2 separate regions of the Homo sapiens genome follow, and region 1 is linked to region 2. Evidence: promoter capture Hi-C in 16 types of primary human blood cells and fetal thymus (Javierre and others, 2016). All regions are on one chromosome and are shown on one strand. Each heading gives the region's core, a stretch centred on a gene start or on the middle of the fragment in contact. The rest is flanking DNA. Distances are from core to core; before and after follow the strand shown. Region 1 holds the start of CRISP1 (cysteine rich secretory protein 1). Region 2 holds the start of GLYATL3 (glycine-N-acyltransferase like 3).

Region 1 (3,586 bases), core at 134-2,633, 370 kb before region 2:
TATGTCATAAAAGGCATTGCAGCCTCTCCTGTGTTCTTGCATCATTTGCTCAGGGGTAGGTGACTGTCAAGTTATAAGGATAATCAGAAGCCCTGTGGAAAGGCCAATCTGGAGAGCAACTAGGGCTTCGCACCAACAAACAGCACCAACTTGCAAGTCATATAAGTAAATCAATTTGGAAGCAGGAAAGCCATCAGAGATATAAATGTCTGCAGCCTCAACTGACAACTGATTGCAATCAATGAGGCACCATAAACCAAATGTGCTCAGTCAAGCCATCCTTGAATTACTGATTCCCAGAAACCAAGAGACCACATTTATTGCTTTAAATCATTGAGCCTTGGGATTATTTATTATGAGAAGTAGACAACTAAAACAAAGTTGAATAGAAGGATAAATGTATATTGACTTTCATTCTGATTATGAAAGCTATAAATTGTAGAAGAAGAGGGGGGAAATTTCAAAGGGCCATTAATCTCCCAGGGTTCTTAAAATTCAAATTCAGAAACTGACTTTGGCTTTATTTTATGTGCAACATAAGTTTGAATTTGTTAAAGTCTAGAGTACTTTTTGGCCTGAGTTTCTGAGCAAGTCTGGAGTCATTGAGCCCTTGCAACATACAGGACTTTGAAGCATAAGCACAATTTTACTGAGTGGTATGAAGAAGCAATGAGACACAAATGGGATTGTTGTAGGTAAGAGTTCAGTCATGGAGAAAGTGAAGGGAAAGGAGAGGATGTCTGTGTCCAGTGGATAATTAGAATAAAGCCACAGCCAGAATATATGCAAAATTATTTTACAAATATGATTTTAAAATCACATTTAACACATGAATGCTTCCTTCAACATGTATTATATATCTGGGCTTTCTAAAATTTTTGTTAGCCAATCTCTGAGTAAATGATTGATTTAAAGTTTCTTTTAAAAATGGATATATTCAGACAAACATGATGTGATTGTAAACACATTAGCCTTTATCTATCTCTCAAGATTTTTCTGGGATAATCCAGTTAGAAATATTCTATCATGTTATGATATGCTAGATAAATGTGTCAGATTATTATTTTAGGGAAAAAAGTTATTGTAGATAGTTTCCTACTATGCTAAAAAGCTTAAACAGAAAGAGAACAATCTATGAAAATAGGAAATTTATGAACAGAAACAGCCAACTGGCACCCATGTTTGGGACTCACATGCAAATCAAGTTATTCCTTGCTTTCCAACACTTCCCAAATTCTTTTAAAACCATATATGAAGCTGGATAGCAACTCTATATGAAGACATCAGTGCTATAAATACAGACAGCATTGTGTTGGGTAGAGCAATGCCAGGAATTGCCAGGACCAACAGATAAAACCAGAGCAATTAAGTTTCCATAAACACTTGACTTGATGTTGAATCAACACTCTCCTTTATAAACAGCAGTTTAGCAAGAAATAAATGACAATTATACATTTCTAATATATAAACCATGCTGGTTTGGTGAAGTAATAGCATTCTTTTGCAGCTTTCTTTTTACAATGTAGTTTGTTGGAGAAAGTTGCTCAATAATTTGGAAGTGTTAATTTCAAGATCATGTAAAATTCTTTAAAGCCAATTAAAGTTAAGCTAAAGATAATTCATCTTATCTATGAAAGAGTTTACAGATAAGCTTTTCTATGTTTTTAGATTAACACCATCTCCCTCAACCAAAAGAGAAATTCTTCTAGGTATAGGTGAGCAATTTTTAGTGATGTTTAGTTCTCCTTTCCTGCAGATGGTTTTCTGGACATTCATTATATACTTTAACAAGACCAGAAAGTTCTATCTTAAGAGACTCTGATCTTTCTTTTAATTTTTATTTCCTAACCCTCACCCCAGAACTAACACAAAATAACTTATGACTACACAATTCTTACCTTATTTTTACTCTTTCCTTTTAGATATTCAATTGCCCTTTCTTAAGCAAGATACAAGAAAAATATTTTTTATTAAATAATAATGTATTCTTTCTTACAAAGAACAAAGACTTAATTCATAATTTTAAAAAGAGGCCAGCAAGCTATGACTTCAATATAAGCGACCATGCACTCACATATACAAACATTTCCCAACTTTTCAGAATAATAAGACAATTCAAAAACATCTGATTACACCTAGTTTCAGAGTAAATTTTCTATTCTCATATGTGATTTCTGTCTGTGTGATATTTCTTTCTTTGTTCTAAGTGTCCTGTGATATTTCTCATCATGTGACTCAAATGATTTCTGGAATTTTTAGTGTTTTACAATTTAGTGTTCAGTATTTCTAGACCTCTCAAGGTAGTTAGTTGCTTCCACATTGTTTCTGGACAAATCTCTATTAGAATTCTCCCAAATTGCAGAAGTTTTCCTTTTAACCAGGAAGGTCTTAGGAAAATGGACTACTTATCTTTTCATTCCCAGAGCCTCTCCAAGTATGTGACACATTATAGAACAGTTACCAAACTCCATAAGATTGTGTAGTTTATATGTTTGGTGATTCTATGTATCCTCAGCATCTAGAAGAGAGCATAAATCATCTTAAGACCTCAATAAATAATTACTGAATGAATTTAATAAAGTTGAGAAGTTTCTGGACCAGCAAGTCATTTTCCCTTACAGTGACCTTTGTTATCTGATTGTGGCTCTGCTGAATCATGCAACTAATCTTTGCAGTTAGTTCCCAGGGTAAAAGTTTAAAATTGGTGAGTTCCATTGATGATGTTGCCTTGGTTACAAACTAGAAATGTCCCCATAATCATGATTTGTAATCTTCACAGACTCTAGATTTGTTCTGATTATCATGTATTCATGCCTGGTGTCCACCGTAAATCCCTTGATCTGTTATAGGCATTTACCTTGTACTGACTACCTCATTGAACAAATCTCCCCTGTGGACTGTCATTTAAAAGCACAAATACACTACATAGAGAAAGGCTTGGTTCTTATCAGGACACAAATTTAAAGGCTGTGTGGACTTGGGTAAGTTATATAATATCTTTGTCAGTTTCTTTATTTGAAAATAAGATTCATAAGTGACTACCCAAAAGCATTGTTATAATGTTAAATGAGATTACATGCAAAGTTTTATTCTAATGCTATTGTTATCTAAAAGTAAATGTTAGTTATCTCCATGCTTTTAATAAAGGTGTTTATAAGCTGATATACTATCCAAATATAAAGTAATATTACATGTTGAGTTCATTCTCATGAACTTCTTGGGGAGGGCTTAGAAGAAACATTTTTTCACGTAGGGACAATTACCATAGGGTTATATAGATCTGAAAATGACAACGTAGGCATCTTTTATTTCACAAAATATTGAAAATGCTGCCAAAAGAATTAGCCAGTAATAAGGGGCCATAGTCAAACAGGTAGTGGTCCTCTGTCACTTTTATAACTTGACATTTTGTTTTCGGGAGTTGCTAGACATTTAATGGATAATGGCGATTAAAGATTTATTTTACAGACTGTAAGGCAGCCTCTATCAGAACCAAGACAGCATGAAGGAGAAATTGAGAACTAGTGATGGGCCCCAGCGGGCAGGATTTTAAGCTGTCCAAACTTCTTTCTGCAGTCTTTCCATC
Region 2 (3,827 bases), core at 888-3,387:
ACAAAATTGCATGCAGGATTGTGTAAAGACAATGCCAGGTTGGACTGCCAGAATGAACCAATAGCACGTGATGTGCTTCCCCCTGCAGACAGCCTATGAATGGATGTGCATTCAGGGAGGTTTCACATCACCAAGATTCCTATCCCAGAAAAGCAGATGTTCATAGCTCTGGGAATGGAATGCGACCCTTGTGGATAGCCTATAAATGGACGAATGAGGGGTGCCTGTCCATATGGATAAGATAGGGCTATAACACGCTCATCTTGCCACAGCTCTTCTAGGCCTCTTTAGGGTTAAGACATATTTCCTTCTGAGGATTTCTGGTCTAACTAGTTGTCTAGCTTCACATCCTGTTTCTATGGATTGTTTGTAACCAGCTTTTGCTGCAACTGTTACTGCTGATTAATATCCTGCTAATCATAGGTTATGGAAAGACTGTGTTTCTGTTTTAAGGCTCTGTTAGAAATTACTGATGCACACACTATATTGTAAATTCTTATCTCTGTATACTGTACTTCTGCATACAGATATTATGTTAAAGAATTACTTCATCCCCATGTGACCATCTCACCTCATAATCAAATGACCCTAAATCCCTCACTAACCTACCGCTGCCCTCACTAAACTTAATAATAAATGCTGGTATAGTCAGTGCATTGGCGGCACCGCGGGACCTGCTTTCACTATCTTGTGTGAGTCTCTTATTTCTCGACCTGCCAATCCACCTAGGAACAAAGAGAGAGCCCCGTTGCATTGCGGGCTGCTGGCCAGCTCCCGCGATACACACCACCAACGCCTGGCTAGTTTTTTTTATATTTTTAGTAGAGATGGGGGGTTTCACCATGTTGGCTAGGCTGATCTCAAACTCCTGACCTCATGTGATCCACCTGCCTTGGCCCCCCAAAGTGCTGGGATTACAGGTGTGAGCCACCCTGCCTGGCCTCCAGCTTCTTAATAGCAAAACCTCTACTTAATTGGCTTCAACTTACCCTTCTAGACTATACTCATGCAACTCACAAATTACTCAGGGTGACAAACTAAAATCAGAGACATTCCCCCATGGGTTCATGCAGAGAGGACACTACAATTAATCTACATTTGACAATACCCTTTCAGTAAACAGTGATTCATTTCATAAGGATCTTTCATTAAATAGAAATTTTTTTAATGCCACAAGGTAGAGCAGAAATTCTCATTGATGCAGAAAATATTTTCTACACATTTTTGTAACATGTTAGAGAGTCATAATGACGATTAACTCTGAAAGCTACAAGAGCAGAATGTCATATCCTTACCACTTGATTAGTACTGTCCATAATCAGTATGTTCTGGAATTGGAAGTTAAAGGTTGGTAACTCCTTTAACCAAATTATAACCAATAGACTCACTGTTTGAAAGTATTTGTCAAGAAAAAGAATTATGCTCATGTAAGTTTTAGAAACTGAAGTTTCTTTGGGGGCATTTGAGTGTTTATAAGCACAGAGCAAGCATCTAAAATATTTTATTCATTAATATTTATCATAACAATGAAAGCATGACACTCTCCTGGGAGACTTTTAAGTCTTATAAGCAATAAAACATAAGATCTCTGTTTTTGTAATGTAATACAATATTTACAATATAATGGTGGGCATTTGTTAATGAGGAAATACATTTTTTTAAGCACTTGGAATCCAATGCTAGTAATTATTTTTCATATGTTAGGATTTTTGTTCAGAGAGGTTGCTCTAGTTGTGCCCATATCACAATGCAAACAAATTTATACTTGGTAATACTTATTTTCCTCACATCAAAATTTAAGAGTAAAAATTTTCCTCATATCAAAATTTAGGAGTTAAAAAAACCCCAAACAAAAACACGCCAAGAAACAAAACAAAATATATCTTTCCTTGAAACCTAATTACAATGTATTCGTTCTGTATAAGGTTGGATTTCATCTCTTCTCTATTTTTCCCATCCCTTTCTGCAATTATAAACTATGACTTGAAATGTATTATATTAATGAATAAATGTTTACCTGCTGGGAGTTCAGTCCAGAACTGAGGGTTTTCAGCTGTGTATCAGTCCAGTAGCCCTTTTATATAAATGGTAAGTTTATTCTTCAAGGCTACCTCTCTAATTAGCCCTTAGTGGAAACAGGAGGGAGAGAAAAAAAAAAAAGTGCCCACACCTGTAGACGGGGAGGAGTTTATGATGGTGATCAGGTGAAAATCATCTCACATAGAGCACAGGCATTTCCACTCCATCTCTTCCTTTTTATCACATTTAGCCTTATGGTGTAAAAGCCAATGAATACTAATCTTGATTTAGAGATAGGTATTTTCTAGCCATAAAACCTGTCTATTAATCAGTATCTCATGAAGGAGAATAAAAAGAAGAGGAGCCCAGGCAAATGGTAGTACGATAAGAAAGTAATATAAAGGTATTGACCCTTTAGTTATTTTTTTATATATTCTGAAGAAAATGATTTTGCTGCCCTAAACTTCCAAGGCTGAAAGGGGGTAATCTCTACAGAGGATACATAAGTACATGAGAGTAATTTCAAGAATTTTAATTACTTCAGCCTATTCTTTTAAATGAAAAGTCATTCAGAGTTTACTCACTTCTTTCAAAAGACTGCAATTTTAACCACCATGTAAGTATTTACTTGGACATCTCAGCACTCAATATCTACATCTTGAAATAATATGCAACACAAATGTCTCAACGGCATATGCAGAGTGCTTCAGTTTGAATGTGGTTAGATGGGAGGATTCTGTTTACCACATTTAGGTCTCATAAAATGGTAAGGTAGGGCATTCTTCACTAGAGGACACTGAGCTTTGTAATACAATGGGCAGCTAGTAGTTGACAGCAAATGGAGAAATTGTATTAGATGTCAATTACTAGATGTCAAAATAAGAGTTTTTGATCTTGCTGTATACATTGATAACTTCTTTTTTAAAAGATGTTACTGAGAACAAAGTATACCTACTCTTGGACCTAAGGAGCCTATATAAATATAGTTTTCTAAATATTAACTGAGTAAAATATATTTTTTAAAAGTTAAGCTTTTTTTTTATTTGCAAAACAGGAACTCCTTTAGACAGTAAGTGCAATATCCTAGGGGAAACTTTAAAAAGTTTGGGGTCTGGTTATTTATAAACTCTGAGACATGTAAAAGTCTCCCCAAATTTAGATTACGTCTTGTTTCCAAGTGCATTTAAAACAGAAATTTGAGCTCTTTGTTCTTTATAAAACATCAGAACTAATTGGAACTAATTTTTGCCTGAAGAAAAAAATAATAAAAAGGCAAAACATTCCTTTTCCTGGAAAGTATGGTTGAAGGTAATTAAATTTGAGATATGTATATATATTAGGCTAAGGCAAACTTTTAACTCTGAGATTAACGGAAAAAGGAGGAAAAAAGGAGATTCCCAATGTAAGATTAATTTAAAGGAATTGTCTTCTGAAAACCCAGGTGAACAAATCCGCAATACATATTATCACTTTACTCAGAAAAATACATCAGATTGTACTTTGCTGTAATAGGGGTTACTCATTAGATTCACTAGCCCCTTCTACTTGTAGTTTATCAGAAAACTCCTAAGAAAAGGTTCAATTATTTTTTCACTTCCTTGTTCTATCATTTACTATCTGTGTGATCTCAAGTTATTTAGCCTCCCTGTGCCGCAGTTTCTTCACCTGCAGGATGGAGATAATAATGAATGTTATGAGGTTTAATTCCCATAGGGTTTCCATTAAGATTAAACATTGGCATAAATACATGTATATAGGTAATGGCATTGGACTAGTACCTGGCATGTAGCAAGCACTCAATAAATGTC

What was found. The method cuts DNA at HindIII sites, captures the fragments that hold promoters and counts their contacts. A CHiCAGO score of 5 or more calls a contact.
Region 1: a contact is called between a fragment that was not itself captured here and the fragment with the promoter of GLYATL3 in region 2, in 4 of 17 cell types (erythroblasts, M2 macrophages, megakaryocytes and 1 more). The highest score is 13.2, in erythroblasts.

Annotation. Positions count from the first base shown.
Region 1 is chr6:49,865,824-49,869,409 of GRCh38, reverse strand. It overlaps CRISP1 (cysteine rich secretory protein 1), which reads left to right and starts at 2,875. Exons shown (of 8, transcript NM_001131.3): 1 at 2,875-2,981. The HindIII fragment of the contact is 540 bases long and covers 1,114-1,653 here.
Region 2 is chr6:49,498,233-49,502,059 of GRCh38, reverse strand. It overlaps GLYATL3 (glycine-N-acyltransferase like 3), which reads right to left and starts at 2,137. Exons shown (of 6, transcript NM_001010904.2): 1 at 2,018-2,137. The HindIII fragment of the contact is 14,834 bases long and covers 1-3,052 here.